Regions from separate parts of the Homo sapiens genome. Here regions 1 and 3 are each linked to region 2. Evidence: promoter capture Hi-C in 16 types of primary human blood cells and fetal thymus (Javierre and others, 2016). All regions are on one chromosome and are shown on one strand. The core of a region is centred on a gene start or on the middle of the fragment in contact, and the rest is flanking DNA. Distances in the headings are between cores, read along the strand shown. Region 1 overlaps DCST2 (DC-STAMP domain containing 2). Region 2 holds the start of TDRD10 (tudor domain containing 10). Region 3 overlaps ADAM15 (ADAM metallopeptidase domain 15).

The links. Contacts are between HindIII fragments. The CHiCAGO score rates a contact against its expected background, and 5 or more counts as called.
Region 1: a contact is called between a fragment that was not itself captured here and the fragment with the promoter of TDRD10 in region 2, in 1 of 17 cell types (activated CD4 T cells). The highest score is 5.8, in activated CD4 T cells.
Region 3: a contact is called between a fragment that was not itself captured here and the fragment with the promoter of TDRD10 in region 2, in 4 of 17 cell types (naive B cells, non-activated CD4 T cells, activated CD4 T cells and 1 more). The highest score is 7.5, in naive B cells.

What each region holds. Positions count from the first base shown.
Region 1 is chr1:155,026,266-155,030,252 of GRCh38, reverse strand. It overlaps DCST2 (DC-STAMP domain containing 2), which reads left to right. Exons shown (of 15, transcript NM_144622.3): 7 at 12-169; 8 at 856-1,020; 9 at 3,538-3,705; 10 at 3,851-3,951. Among named protein-coding and RNA genes, the nearest start is that of DCST2, 5.5 kb to the left of the region's middle. The HindIII fragment of the contact is 6,271 bases long and covers 1-3,987 here.
Region 2 is chr1:154,500,819-154,504,940 of GRCh38, reverse strand. TDRD10 (tudor domain containing 10) reads right to left here and starts at 2,722. Exons shown (of 13, transcript NM_182499.4): 1 at 1,912-2,722. SHE (Src homology 2 domain containing E) reads left to right here and starts at 2,529. Exons shown (of 6, transcript NM_001010846.3): 1 at 2,529-3,505. The coding sequence starts at 2,915. The HindIII fragment of the contact is 2,286 bases long and covers 1,646-3,931 here.
Region 3 is chr1:155,058,328-155,062,376 of GRCh38, reverse strand. It overlaps ADAM15 (ADAM metallopeptidase domain 15), which reads right to left. Exons shown (of 23, transcript NM_207197.3): 15 at 3,936-4,049; 16 at 3,590-3,667; 17 at 2,403-2,475; 18 at 2,034-2,172; 19 at 1,545-1,614; 20 at 888-962; 21 at 402-473; 22 at 8-132. All of the region lies in intron 1 of DCST1-AS1 (DCST1 antisense RNA 1), which reads left to right. ADAM15-EFNA4 (ADAM15-EFNA4 readthrough) reads right to left here. Exons shown (of 26, transcript NR_176418.1): 15 at 3,936-4,049; 16 at 3,590-3,667; 17 at 2,403-2,475; 18 at 2,034-2,172; 19 at 1,545-1,614; 20 at 8-132. Among named protein-coding and RNA genes, the nearest start is that of EFNA4, 3.4 kb to the left of the region's middle. The HindIII fragment of the contact is 4,923 bases long and covers 1-3,711 here.

The sequences.
Region 1 (3,987 bases), core at 695-3,194, 530 kb before region 2:
CCCCTTCCCAGAGCCCTATTTTACCGGTATTGTTACCTGAACTGGGACCATTATGACAATATCTACATCACTAGCCGATTCCTGCGCATGGAGGCTGTGCGCTCCACGGCAGGGCTGCCCACAGTGCTACCGCTCAGTGCTCACGAGGCCAGGCGCTACATCCCACCGGGTGAGGGCCCTGAGGACAGGGAGAGCCCAAGCCAGGGAGGCCAGGGCTTCCCCCCACCCCGCTGCCCTGCCCCTAAGCCCCTGCACAGGCAGGGCTCAGGATGGGCTTGGGGCAGGGGCCAGAGGGAGGAGACACAACCCAGAGCTTAAGGAACTTTCAGGCTGAGGGAAGACACTGCCCGGTCCTTGGGGAGCCCGCAGTCTGAAAGGGGGAACATAGACACCCTTGGAGAAAGTAGCCAGAGACAAGAGGGGCAGATGGTGCTTCTGGGAGCACCCTGGACATCAGGACAGCAGGGGATGGACACAGAGCGAGGGAAGTCAAGTTGGGAGGGCTTCCCCGGGGTGGGCAGGAAGTGCTAATATGGAGGGGGAGGACTGCCTGTGAGGTGGGGAGGCAGGTAAGGGGATGAGGGATGCCCTAGGAGGGAGGGCTCCTTAGACTGGAATGGGCCACAGGGCCAGGTGGAGATGCTAGGCAGGCCCCTCCCTTCTAGCCACGGAGCCCCCTCCCCTGAAGAGTATTTTCCATCCTTGCCAGAGTCCTCACAGCTTCTTTTCTTTTCCGTATTCCTGATGAGCAGACGGGCCCACACCTGATTAGGGGCAGGAGGCCTCTCCAAGAACTGGGATCTGGTGGACGGGAGAACTGGGGAGCATCCTCCTGACCATCCCACTCCTGCTCAGGCTCCATCTTCTTGTCCCAATGGGAGAAGTTTTTTTACATTCTGGAGACCTTCAACCTTATCCGACACCTCCTCCTCGTGCTGTTCCTAGTCTTCCTAGACTATGCTGTCTTCTGGGTGCTTGACCTGGCCCGGCACCAGCTGCAGGGGGAGATTGTGGCCCGCAGTGAGTGCCTACGTGACAGCCTCCTCCCACTCACCCACTGCAGCCCCCTCGGCCTGTTTCTGATCTCCCCGCCTGCTCCCAAGCCTTCTCCTCTTCCCATCCTCAGTCCTGGTGACTGCCTGAATGTCCCCATGTCACTGTTACTCAGCAGCCCACAAGTGTGCCACTCTTTCAACTCTATGCTTTGCCTAGTAACACCTATGTCTAGGTCAAGATTATAACTTACAGAGTAGTTAAAAATGCAAGCTCTAGAGTCACACTGGCCAGGGTTCAAATCCCAGCTCTGTCCTTTATTAGGCGGTGACCTTCAGCAAGTTGCTTAACCTCTTCAGCTTCAGTTTCCTCTTTTTTTTTTTTTTTTTTTGAGACAGAGTCTCGTTCTGTCACCAGGCTGGAGTGCAGTGGCGCCATCTCGGCTCACTGCCTCCGCCTCCCAGGTTTAAGTGATTCTCCTGCCTCAGCCTCCTGAGTAGCTGGGACTACAGGCACATGCCACCATGCCCAGCTTATTTTTGTATTTTTAGTAGAGATGGGGTTTCACTGTGTTGGCCAGGATGGTGTTGATCTCTTGACCTCATGATCTGCTGGCCTTGGCCTCCCAAAGTGCTGGGATTACAGGTGTGAGCCACCATGCTTGGCCTTTTTTTTTGAGATGGAGTCTCACTCTGTCACCCAGGCTGGAGTGCAGTGGTGCAATCTTGGCTCACTACAATCTCTGCCTCCCGGGTTCAAGCAATTCTCCTGTCTCAGCCTCCCAAGTAGCTGGGACTACAGGCACATGCCACCATGTCCAGTTGTATTTTTAGTTGAGACGGGGTTTAACCATATTGCTCAGGCTGCTCTCGAACTCCTGACCTCCGGTGATCCACCCACCTCAGCCTTCCAAAGTGTTGGTATTACAGGCGTGAGCCACTGTCCTGGCCCAGTTTCCTCATCTGAATAGTGGAATAATAATGGTAGCAACCTCTCTGGGTCACTGTAAGGAATAAATTAGATTATGTGTGTTGGGGCCAGGCGGGTGGCTCATGCCTGTAATCCTAGCACTTTAGGAGGATGAGGCGGGTAGATCACCTGAAGTCAGGAGTTTGAGACCAGGCTGGCCAACATAATGAAACCCCATCTCAACTAAAAATACAAAAAATTAGCCAGGCGTCGTGGCAGGTGCCTGTAATCCCAGCTACTTGGGAGGCTGAGGCAGGAAAATCACTTGAACCTGGGAGGCAGAGGTTGCAGTGAGCCGAGATCCTGCCACTGCACTCCAGCCTGGGCAACAAGAGTGAAACTCTGTCTAAAATAATAATAATAAAATAAAATAAAATAAAATAAATTATGTGTGTCGAGTGCCTGGTAAGCCATTAATTGAGAATGTGAGCCAGGTGCGGTGGCTCACGCCTGTAATCCTAGCACTTTGGGAGGCTGAGGCAGACAGATCACCTAAGGTCAGGAGTTCAAGACCAGCATGGCCAACATGGTGAAACCTTGTCTCTACTAAAAATACAAAAAAATGAGCCAGGCATAGTGGTGGGCACCTATAATCCCAGCTACTTGGGAGGCTGAGGCTCAAGAATCACTTGAACCCAGGAGGCAGAGGCTGCAGTGAGCCGAGATCACACCACTGCACTCCAGCCTGGGTGACAGAGTGATACCCTGTCTCAAAAAAAAAAAAAAAAAAAAAAAAGAAGTAAAAAACTCCTAAAAAACAAAAACCAAAACCCCAAAACAAACAATAAAGCACTTGGTTAAGTGTCTGCTACACAGTCAGTGCTCAGCCAATAAATGTTTCTGGGGGTCTTACTCGGTGGCTCACACCTGTAATCCTAGCACTTTGGGAGGCTAAGGCAGGCGAAGTGTCTGCTACACAGTCAGTGCTCAGCCAATAAATGTTTCTGGGGGTCTTACTCGGTGGCTCACACCTGTAATCCTAGCACTTTGGGAGGCTAAGGCAGGCGGATTGCTTGAGCTCAGGAGTTTGAGACCAGCCTGGCCAGCATGGTGAAACCCTATCTCTTTACAAAAAAAAAAAAAAAAAAAAAATAGCCGGTCGTGGTGGCACGTGCCTATAGTCCCAGCAACTTGGGAGGCTGAGGCAGGAGAATCACTCAAACCTGGGAAGTTGAGGCTGCAGTGAGCCAAGATCACACCACTGCACTCCAGCCTGGGTGACAAAGTGAAACCCTGTCTCAAAAAATAAATTAAAAAAAAAAATAAATGCTTCTGGGTGGTCATGGAGGCCGGGGGGTGGACTCACTGACCATTAAGGTCATCTTAGATATGGTGGCTTGGATAGGAAGACCAGACACCAGTACCACCCAGTTGGACCATGGGGCCAGTCCTAGGAGCCAGAACTGAGGTCAGGCCCCAGGGCACCATGAGGGTGCCTGAGGCATCAGAGGCCCCCAGCCAAGGGTCTGAGTCATCCTATGACCTGCGCTGCTCCACTTTCCTCATTCCAGAAGGTGTGGGGTTTTCTGCATAGCAACTGCCATGAGTGTCACTCACACAGTGTCTTTGTGCCAGGTCCTGTGTTGGTGTCTCTAACCGTGGAAGGTACTGGCTACGCTGGGAATATTTATCGTGACCTGGTGTCAGCATTTGATGTCCTGCAGCAAGGCAACATCAGTATTTTGTCCCGGCGTTGTCTCCTTCGTCCCTCGGAGCCTGACAGCACTGGCTACATAGTCATTGGTATCAACTACACCCTGAGGTCCCTGGGGGCGTGGACACCATGTGGGAAATGAGGGGTGCAGACTGCTGAGGATGTGGGGGGCGCCAGGGGTGGGCTGGCACTTGTGCCTGCTGGTGAGGCTGACTGTGGCTGCTGTGCTCCCAGGCGTCATGTATGGCCTATGCTTCTTCATCACCCTGTTTGGCAGCTATGTCAGCCGGCTGCGGCGAGTCATCTGTGCCTCCTACTACCCATCCCGGGAGCAGGTGAGGGGTCCGGGGCTGGGAGCTAGTCCCTGCCCC
Region 2 (4,122 bases), core at 1,473-3,972:
ATCTCGGCTCACTGCAACCTCTGCCTCCCACATTCAAGCGATTCTCCCACCTCAGCCTCCCAGATAGCTGGGACTACAGGCACACACTACCACGATGGCTAATTTTTGTGTTTTTAGTAGAGATGAGGTTTCACCATGTTGGCCAGGCTTTATCTGTGTTTTTAAAAAGACCTAAAGAATACATAAGGAGCTCTTACAACTCACCAACAAAGACAACAAATAAACCAATTAAAAAGTGAGCAAAGGATCTGCTAGACATTTCTCTGGAGATATACAAATGGCCAATAAGCACATGAAAAGATGCTCTGCAACTTTGGCCACTAGGAAAATGCAAATCAAAACCACAAAGATAACACTTCATATCAATCAGGGTGGCTAAAAGCAAGAGATACAGACAACATCCTCTATCTCTAACAAGTATTGAGGACATGAAGAAACAGGGGCCCTCATATTGCTGGTAGGAATGTAAAATGGTGCAGCCACTTTGGAAAAGTTTGGCAGGCTCTCAAAAAGTTAGACAGGGAATTACGATATGACCCAGCAAGTCCACTCCTGGGTAACTATTCAAGAGAAATTCAAATATGTGTCCACACAAAGACTTTTCCACAAATATTCATAGCAGTGTTGCTTATAATAGCCAAAAAGTGAAAACAATCCAAATATCCATCAACTGATGAATGAATAAAGTGCTGTATAGCAATACAATAGAATATTATTTGGCAATATAAAACGAATGTAGTAGTAATACATGCTATACGACCTGGATGAATCTGAAAAATGATGCTAAGGGAAAGAAGGCCACATATTGCATGATTCCACTTCTCTGAAAAGTCCTGACTAGACAAATCTATATAGACAGAAAGTAGATTAGTGGCTGTCTAGGACTGGGAAGGCGGAGAGGGAAATGAGGAGTGACTGCTAATTGACGGGAGATTTCTTTTGGGGGTGATGGAGATGTTCTAAAATTAGATTGTTGCGATGGTTGTACTGTAAACACACCAAATATACTGAAAACACTTGAGGTGCACACTTAAAACAGGTGAATTTTATGGTATGTGAATTATATCTCAATAAAGCTTTAAAAAAATGTCACTACGCATTTTCAAGAACGTCAGTATGAGCACGCATTTCTTCATTTTAGCTTTCCCACCTCACAAACCACCACCCACACAAATGAGGCCGTCCACAGTCGCCATCATTCTGTTTCCATTGTATATGAGGACTCAGTGTTGGTCAGCCCCTTCAGCACATTTAGTTTGCTAAACCAAAAGATTTCCGTTCAGTAAACTAAGTTTAAATTTCTTTTTTTAAACCAGAAAGGTGTTTTTTTGTTTGTTTGTTTTTTGTCTTTTTGAGACGGAGTCTCGCTCTGTCGCCCAGGCTGGAGTGCAGTGACTTGATCTCAGCTCACTGCAACCTGCGCCTCCCGGGTTCAAGCGATTCTCCTGCCTCAGCCTCCTGAGTAGCTGCAACCATAGGCGCGCACCACCACGCCCGGCTAATTTTTGTATTTTTAGTAGAGACCAGGTTTCACCATGTTGGCCAGGCTGGTCTCGAACTCTTGATCTCAGGTGATCTGCCCGCCTCGGCCTCCCAAAGTGCTGGGATTACAGTCGTGAGCCACCGCGCCCGGCCTCAGAAAGCTTTTAAAGGGCTTCGAAGGGAGGGAGGAATGGCAGAGGCGTCTTTTCCCTTAAAGTGGCCACAGTTCTGCACACGGCACTCCCCGCCCGCACAAATCCAGACTAGGAGGGCCGCTCCCAACCGGCGCGAGCGAGCGACGGCCCCGCGGGAACAGCGACCCCTTTCCCCCATCAGTCGGGACGAGGGCGTTTCCCATGGCTGCCTGCCGACGCCCCTCCCTCCCAACCCTCGCCTGGCATCCCGGGACCTGGGGCCGACAAGCCATACCTCGTCTCGCGGGCCACGCGCGTGCACCTGCGATCGCGACGCCCAGCCTTCGCGCCTTCTCCCTCCGCGCTCCGCCCCCTCTGAGCCCGGGGGCACGGGGCGGGGCTTGCCGGCAGCCAATCCCCGGCGGCCACGGCGGGAAGAGCCTCGCGCTGCCCAGGACCGTGTGCCACCGAAGAGTAACGGAACTAGCGCAGGAGCTGGCGACCGTTGTCCCTGCGCCCGGACCTCGGGCCGCAACCTCTGCCCTACCGCCAAAAATAACGTCTGCAGAAAGAGTGGAGTAGAGCGGAGTGGGTGGGCGAGGGGCTTCCTTCCCGGGGGTGAGCGGCGCACGTGACACTCCTGGGCGCGTGTGAAGGCAGCGCCCGGCCGAGACCGGCTCGGTGCAGACGCGGGCTGTCGGCGGCAGAAGGGGGCTCTCTGCTCAGTGGGGCGCGGCCGATCCGCACGTGCGGCCGCCGCCCCTTTCTCCAGAGCTCGCAGCCCGACCCGCCTCTGCCATGGCGCTCACCCCGCCGCCCCCAGCTCTGGGCAGGAGGTGGCGGGGCTGGGAGGCGCCAGCCGCGGAGGGGAGGGGCGCGCGGAGTTGATGGGCCGCTCGCCGTCCGTCCACCGTCTGTCGCTGCGCCGGGGATACTCCCGCCGCCTCCGCTCGGTCCTCTCTGGTCCCTGGGAGCGTGGGCTGGGCCGCAGGGGGCTTCCGTGGGCCTGGCCTCTCCCACCGCAGGAGGAAAGAGCAGGGGGAAGCCCCCGGCGCCCGCCGCCTCCGAGAGCCACGGTGTCCTCGGGCCGGGCAGGCGTTGAAGACGAGCCCGGGCGGGGCCCCCCGCGCGTCGTGCCTGTCGCCTGCCGTGTCCGGAGCAGAGGCTAGCGCCCGCCCGCTCGGCGCCCCGAGCCGTGAGAACCCCACCCTGCCGGGCGTGGGCGACGGCCGGCCGGGGGCGCACGGAGCAGCCGTCGCGGGGCCTCGCCGCGGCCTCCAGCGCCCCAGTCACGGGGAATGCAGTGGTCCCCGACCCCTGGCGCCTCTGCGTGTCTGGGCTGGGCTTCCTCGCTCGCCTGCTCCACGGCCCCGACGCTCCTGGGCCGAGCCGGCCGGGGCCCCCTCATGGCGGCCAAGTGGTTCAAGGAGTTCCCCCTGAACCTGAAGACCGTGTCGGAGCGGGCCAAGCCCGGGGGCGGCGGCGGCAAATTGCGCAAGAACTCGGAGGCGGGCGGCGCTGGGCCGGGTCCTGGCAAGGGCCGCAAGAACTCGGCGGCCGAGCTGGGGAGCGGCAGGGCCGGCGTCGGCCCCAAGGACAGCCGGCTGTCCCGCGACAGCCTGCAGGGTCTGATTCAGGCCGCCGCGGGCAAGGGCCGCAAAAACTCCCGGGCCACGGAGGAGGAGCCCCACCGGGGTGCAACCAAGAGCTCGGGCTGCAGCACCTACATCAACAGGCTCATCAAGGTGGACACTCAGGAGAAGAACGGGAAGAGCAACTACCCCAGCAGCAGTAGCTCCAGCTCCAGCTCCTCTTCCTCCGCGTCCTCTTCCCCTTCCTCCCTGGGGCCCGAGCTGGACAAGGGCAAGATTATTAAGCAGCAAGAGACGGTAAGAATACAGCCTCCCTTGGACCACCTCTCAGTCGAAGGGGAGCCCTGGGCGCCTGCTAAGCCCTAGGCTTCTTTAGACCTAAGAGGCAGTGAGGATAGGTTTCCTAAGGTCCTTTCTCCCTCCACCATTTGGGAATTCCTGACCATTTAAAATTCTTAGACTGTTTTTTAATTCTTGAAAAACTCTTATTTTAGAGGTGGGGAGTTTTGCAGAAATGTACTAGCCATTGAATTTTGTTAGCAGTTTAGAAGAGTCGTTGAATGAGATATTCCTGTTTGGTTACATTTGACCCCTTTATAGATGTGGTTCATTTTAATTTTGATATTCAGGGGAATTGCAAAGCTAGGCTTGTGTATGACTTTTATGCTTCTTGAGCATAAGGAATGGTAACCTCTCAAGTGTGTAGATATGCATTTCAAAGCTTCAGGAAATGGTTTAACCAACAGTCTTCTCCACTGATTTGGAAGTTCCATCATTTTCTGCGGTTCCACCGAGTAAAGGGCTCCTCGGAGGTTCAGCAAATCTCCAAGACTGCTGCCCTTTCATTCATTCCATGGGCATTTGTTGCGCAGCAGCCATATGAGGAAAGGAGCACAGGGCATTAAGGGCTGTGG
Region 3 (4,049 bases), core at 1-2,500, 560 kb before region 2:
CTCCTACCTGGAGGGTACCACTAGGGGCGGGATTCCAGCCCCTGGGCCGGGCAGGTCACCCGATGGGCACCGGCCCTGGGGGTCGGCAGGCAGTGGCTTCCTTGGGGGTGGGGGCTTGGCTGGCCCCTGAGACTGAGGGAGAGAAGGCAGGAGGCCGGCTTAGGTGGGGGGGTGTCATGTTGCCCACCCCCAACGCACTGGTGCTGGGGAACACCAGCTTGGGGGCAGCACCAGCGGTCACCCTTGTCTGCAAACAAACCTGTCACCATTAAAGGCACCACCGGGATATGTGCCCTCATGCACTGAGGGGGCATCTCGCCACGGCCACCACCGTCATGGCTACCAGCACCACAGCCCTAGGTGGGGGGAGAGGCCGTGCCCTTCTCTCCCCCCACCGTTACCTTCGGGCTTCTCACCACCGGGTCAGCGGGCAGAGGGCGGGTAGGGGGATTGGGTCGGTCAGCCAGCTCAGCCTGAACAGAGAGAGGGGCAGTGGCTGTGAGAGCATAACCAGGGGCTGTGGACATGCACAGAGATTCCCCAGAGGGGTTCAAGTCAACATGCAAAGTCAGCCAGGGGGCAGGAGAGAATGAGGGCATGCGCAGAGGGCTTGGAGGCATGCCAGCTGATGTCTCAGGGGAGGAAGGTGTAGGTCAACCGCAGTCCCTGGCCGACTGCAGTCCCGCCATTGACCACCAGATGGTGGTAGAAACCAAGGCAGGAGGCTCACCCTTTGCTGCTTCTGGGGCTCAGAGTGTCTGAAGGCTGAGGGGCACCCCGATCACCTAATGAAGAGCACCACTGGCAGGGAGCAGGGATGAGAACTGCAGTTGGGTACCAAGCCTCCCACCTGCCTTGGCTCAGGGCGGGCCCTGGCCCAGATTTACCTGGAGTCTCTTGGACACAGGGTCAGGCGGCAGCGGCCTGGAAGGGGGGGCCGGGAAGCTGAGAGCACTAGCCTGCTGAGAGGGCAGGAGGGGCAGATAGGCACAGAGGGGGAAGAGGAAGCAGAGAGACAGAGTGGGCAGGGAAGGGTCAGTGCCCAGGGGGGGCCAGCAGGGGCCCAGGGCAGTGGGTGCTGTGCATGCAGTTATGCAGGTGCATGCAGGTGGGGAGCGAGTGGGGAGGAGGTGTGCACACACTCCCATCATCCAAGCAGAGGGCTCAGGGTGGGGATGCTCACCAGCCCTTCTAACATGGTGACCTGGGCCTACGGAAGGCCATTCTGAGCACCACTGCCCTTGTGCCCTCCTGGGGTCACTGCTGGGGGCATGGATAGATCCACCTCTCAAAGCCACCTCTTGGCCAGCGGACGGAGCCCAGCAGCTCCTGCTCCAGCTGGCTGCCCTCCCCACTCTTCTGGACTCAGCTTCCCTGCCTGTAGCCAGGGGAGGGGAGGGCAGGGCTGGCCCTGACTCCTTCGACTGACTCTTGGGCAGTGCTAGCCTTTCTCTGAGTCTGGAGCCTTTAATGCGCACCCCCCAGGGCCCAAGCTGGATGCCCGGCCAAGGTGGAGTCCCCTTCCTCTGGCATCCAGGACTCACCTTAGTGCCTCGTGCCAGCAGGGCCCTCTGCGGAGGTCCTGGCCGTTCAGAGGGACCAGATTGGGCTGCCCTATGCATGAGGAAAGGCAAGAAGGGAGAGGGCCCAGCCTCAGACCCTGTTTTCTACCATATGCCATCCCTGAGTGGGGTTAACCCTTTGCAGGCACTTATGTGTGGTTTAGGTAAAATTGTGGTAGGGCCGGGGTGGGGGGCAGTATTTATTAGCTTGAGGGAAGACCCTACTTATCCAGCACAGGGGCTCCTGGGGAGAAATGGCCCTAGCAATCCAGCCACCCCACAGGGGCACAGCTGTGAGGTAAAAAGCTGTGGGCACATATAGGGAAGGGAGGTGTGGGGTATGGCAGTCAGCAACTTTAAGGTCCAAGGGGCCTGGGGCTCAGAACCAGGTGGCAGGGGCTGCAGAGGTGAGGCAGCCTTCAGCACTGTCCCCAGTTGAAGGAAGTGGTAGCAGGGAGGTGATGCTCATACCTGTACTGGCAGGTGGGTCCCTTGAGCTGGCAGAGTCGCTGGTGCAGGCGGGCACGGTACCAGTAGCTGGCACCAAGCATCACCAGGACCAATAAGACCAGGAGGCTGAGGAGCAGCCCTGTGGTCAGGGAGCTGGTTGCTGTGGGCGGAAGTCAGGTTTAAGGGAGGACGGGGCTAAGAACTCTAGATCCATGAAGGCGCAGGGGGCAGGGAGTGAAGTCAAGTGATCAGGGAGAGTGAAGGGTTCAAGGGGCACAGACTCAGGGAACCAGCAGCAAAGGGGGGTCAGAAAGAGAGGGCCGAGGGGGCAAGATAAAGCATGAGACGCTTTGCCCTCCCAGCTGCCCCTGTCCCCCACCCCCATGCTACCTTTGAGCTGAGTGGTGCAGTCAGGGGGTGCCCAGCCCTCCTCACAGTAGCAGTGCCTGTTGCTGTCACAGACCTAGGAGGTACAAGGCGAGCAATGAGGAGCTCTGCACTCTGGAACTATTTCCTTGTCTCTAGCTTTTCAAGATCTCAGATTTCTACAACTGGGGGTTGTGCTGGGTATGTGTGTAGAGACAGCCCGGAGGGAGGGTCTTTATCCATACCAGAGCAAATTAGATCAAACTAACACTTACTGAGCTCCTTCTGTGTGCTGGGCACTGTGGTACATGCTTTCTTTCTTTGTGTTTGTTTTGTTTTGTTTTATTTTATTTTATTTTAGACAGCAAGTAAGATGGAGTCTCACTCTGTTGCCCAGGCTGGAGTGCAGTGGTGCAATTATGGCTCACTGCAGCCCCAAACTCCTGGGCTCAAGCAGTCCTCCTGCCTCAGCCTCCCAAGTAGCTGGGAGCATAGGTGTGCACCAGCAGGCCTGAATAATTTTTAAATTTTTCCTTGAAAGAGATGGGGGTCTCACTATGTTGACCAGGCTGGTTTTGAACTCCTGGCCTCAAGTAATCCTCCTGCCTTGGCCTCCCAAAGTACTGTGATTTGGCTGGGTGCAGTGGCTCACCCCTATAATCCCAGCACTTTGGGAGGCTGAGGCGGGAGGATCACTTGAGGTCAGAAGTTCAAGACTAGCCTGGCCAACATGGTGAAACCCATCTCTACTGAAAATACAAAAATTAGCTGGGCATGGTGGCGGGTGACTGTAATCCCAGCGAGTAGGGAGGCTGAGACATGAGTAATGTTTGAGCCTGGGAGGCAGAGGTTGCAGTGAGCCGAGATCACGCCAGCGCACTCCAGCCTAGGCAACAGAGCGAGACTCTGTCTCAAAACAAAACAAACAAACAAACAAAAAAACTGTGATTATAGGCATGAGCCATTGTGCCCAGCCTGTGCTAGATGCTTTCATACTCATCTCATGTACCCTGGATGGGGATACTATTATTATAGCCATTTGATAGGTGGGGAAACTGAGCTCAGCAAAGTTAGTAACCTGCCCGAGGTCACACAACTGGGAAGTAGTAGAGCAAGGATTAAAACCCAGATATGTCTATTTCCAAAGCCCAGTATCCTTTTCCTCTCTAGAGGCTCTCTGCTCCCCTTCCACTTCCCCCATCCCAGCTCACCCCATGTCCATGGCATTTGCTTCGACATTCCTGTGCCCCCAGGAGATCCACACGCTGGCATCGATGGTCTATACACACCTGACCCAGGGAGAGAAGAGCCTGGATCAGATTCCCACAAAGCTTTAATGGGACTGGGAGGCCAATAAGGTTGAGGCCATACCCTGCGTTTACAGATGGGGAAACCAAGGCATAGTGAGTTGATAGGACTTTGCTCCATCTGAAGTAAGAAACTGACTTCCCTTGGAGTCCCTGCCTTTGACATTGGTGAATGGTGAAGTCTGGGCTCTGTTCATTGTGGTCCAAATGTCCCTTCTCACACCTGGTCTTGCCCACCCAGGCTGCTCACCAGGCCAGGGCCACAGGCTGTGCCAGGCAGAGTCAGGAGGGGCTGGGCCACATCACTGCCCAGGTCCAGGTGCACCCAGCTGCAGTTCAGCTCAGTCCCATTCACATCTATTGT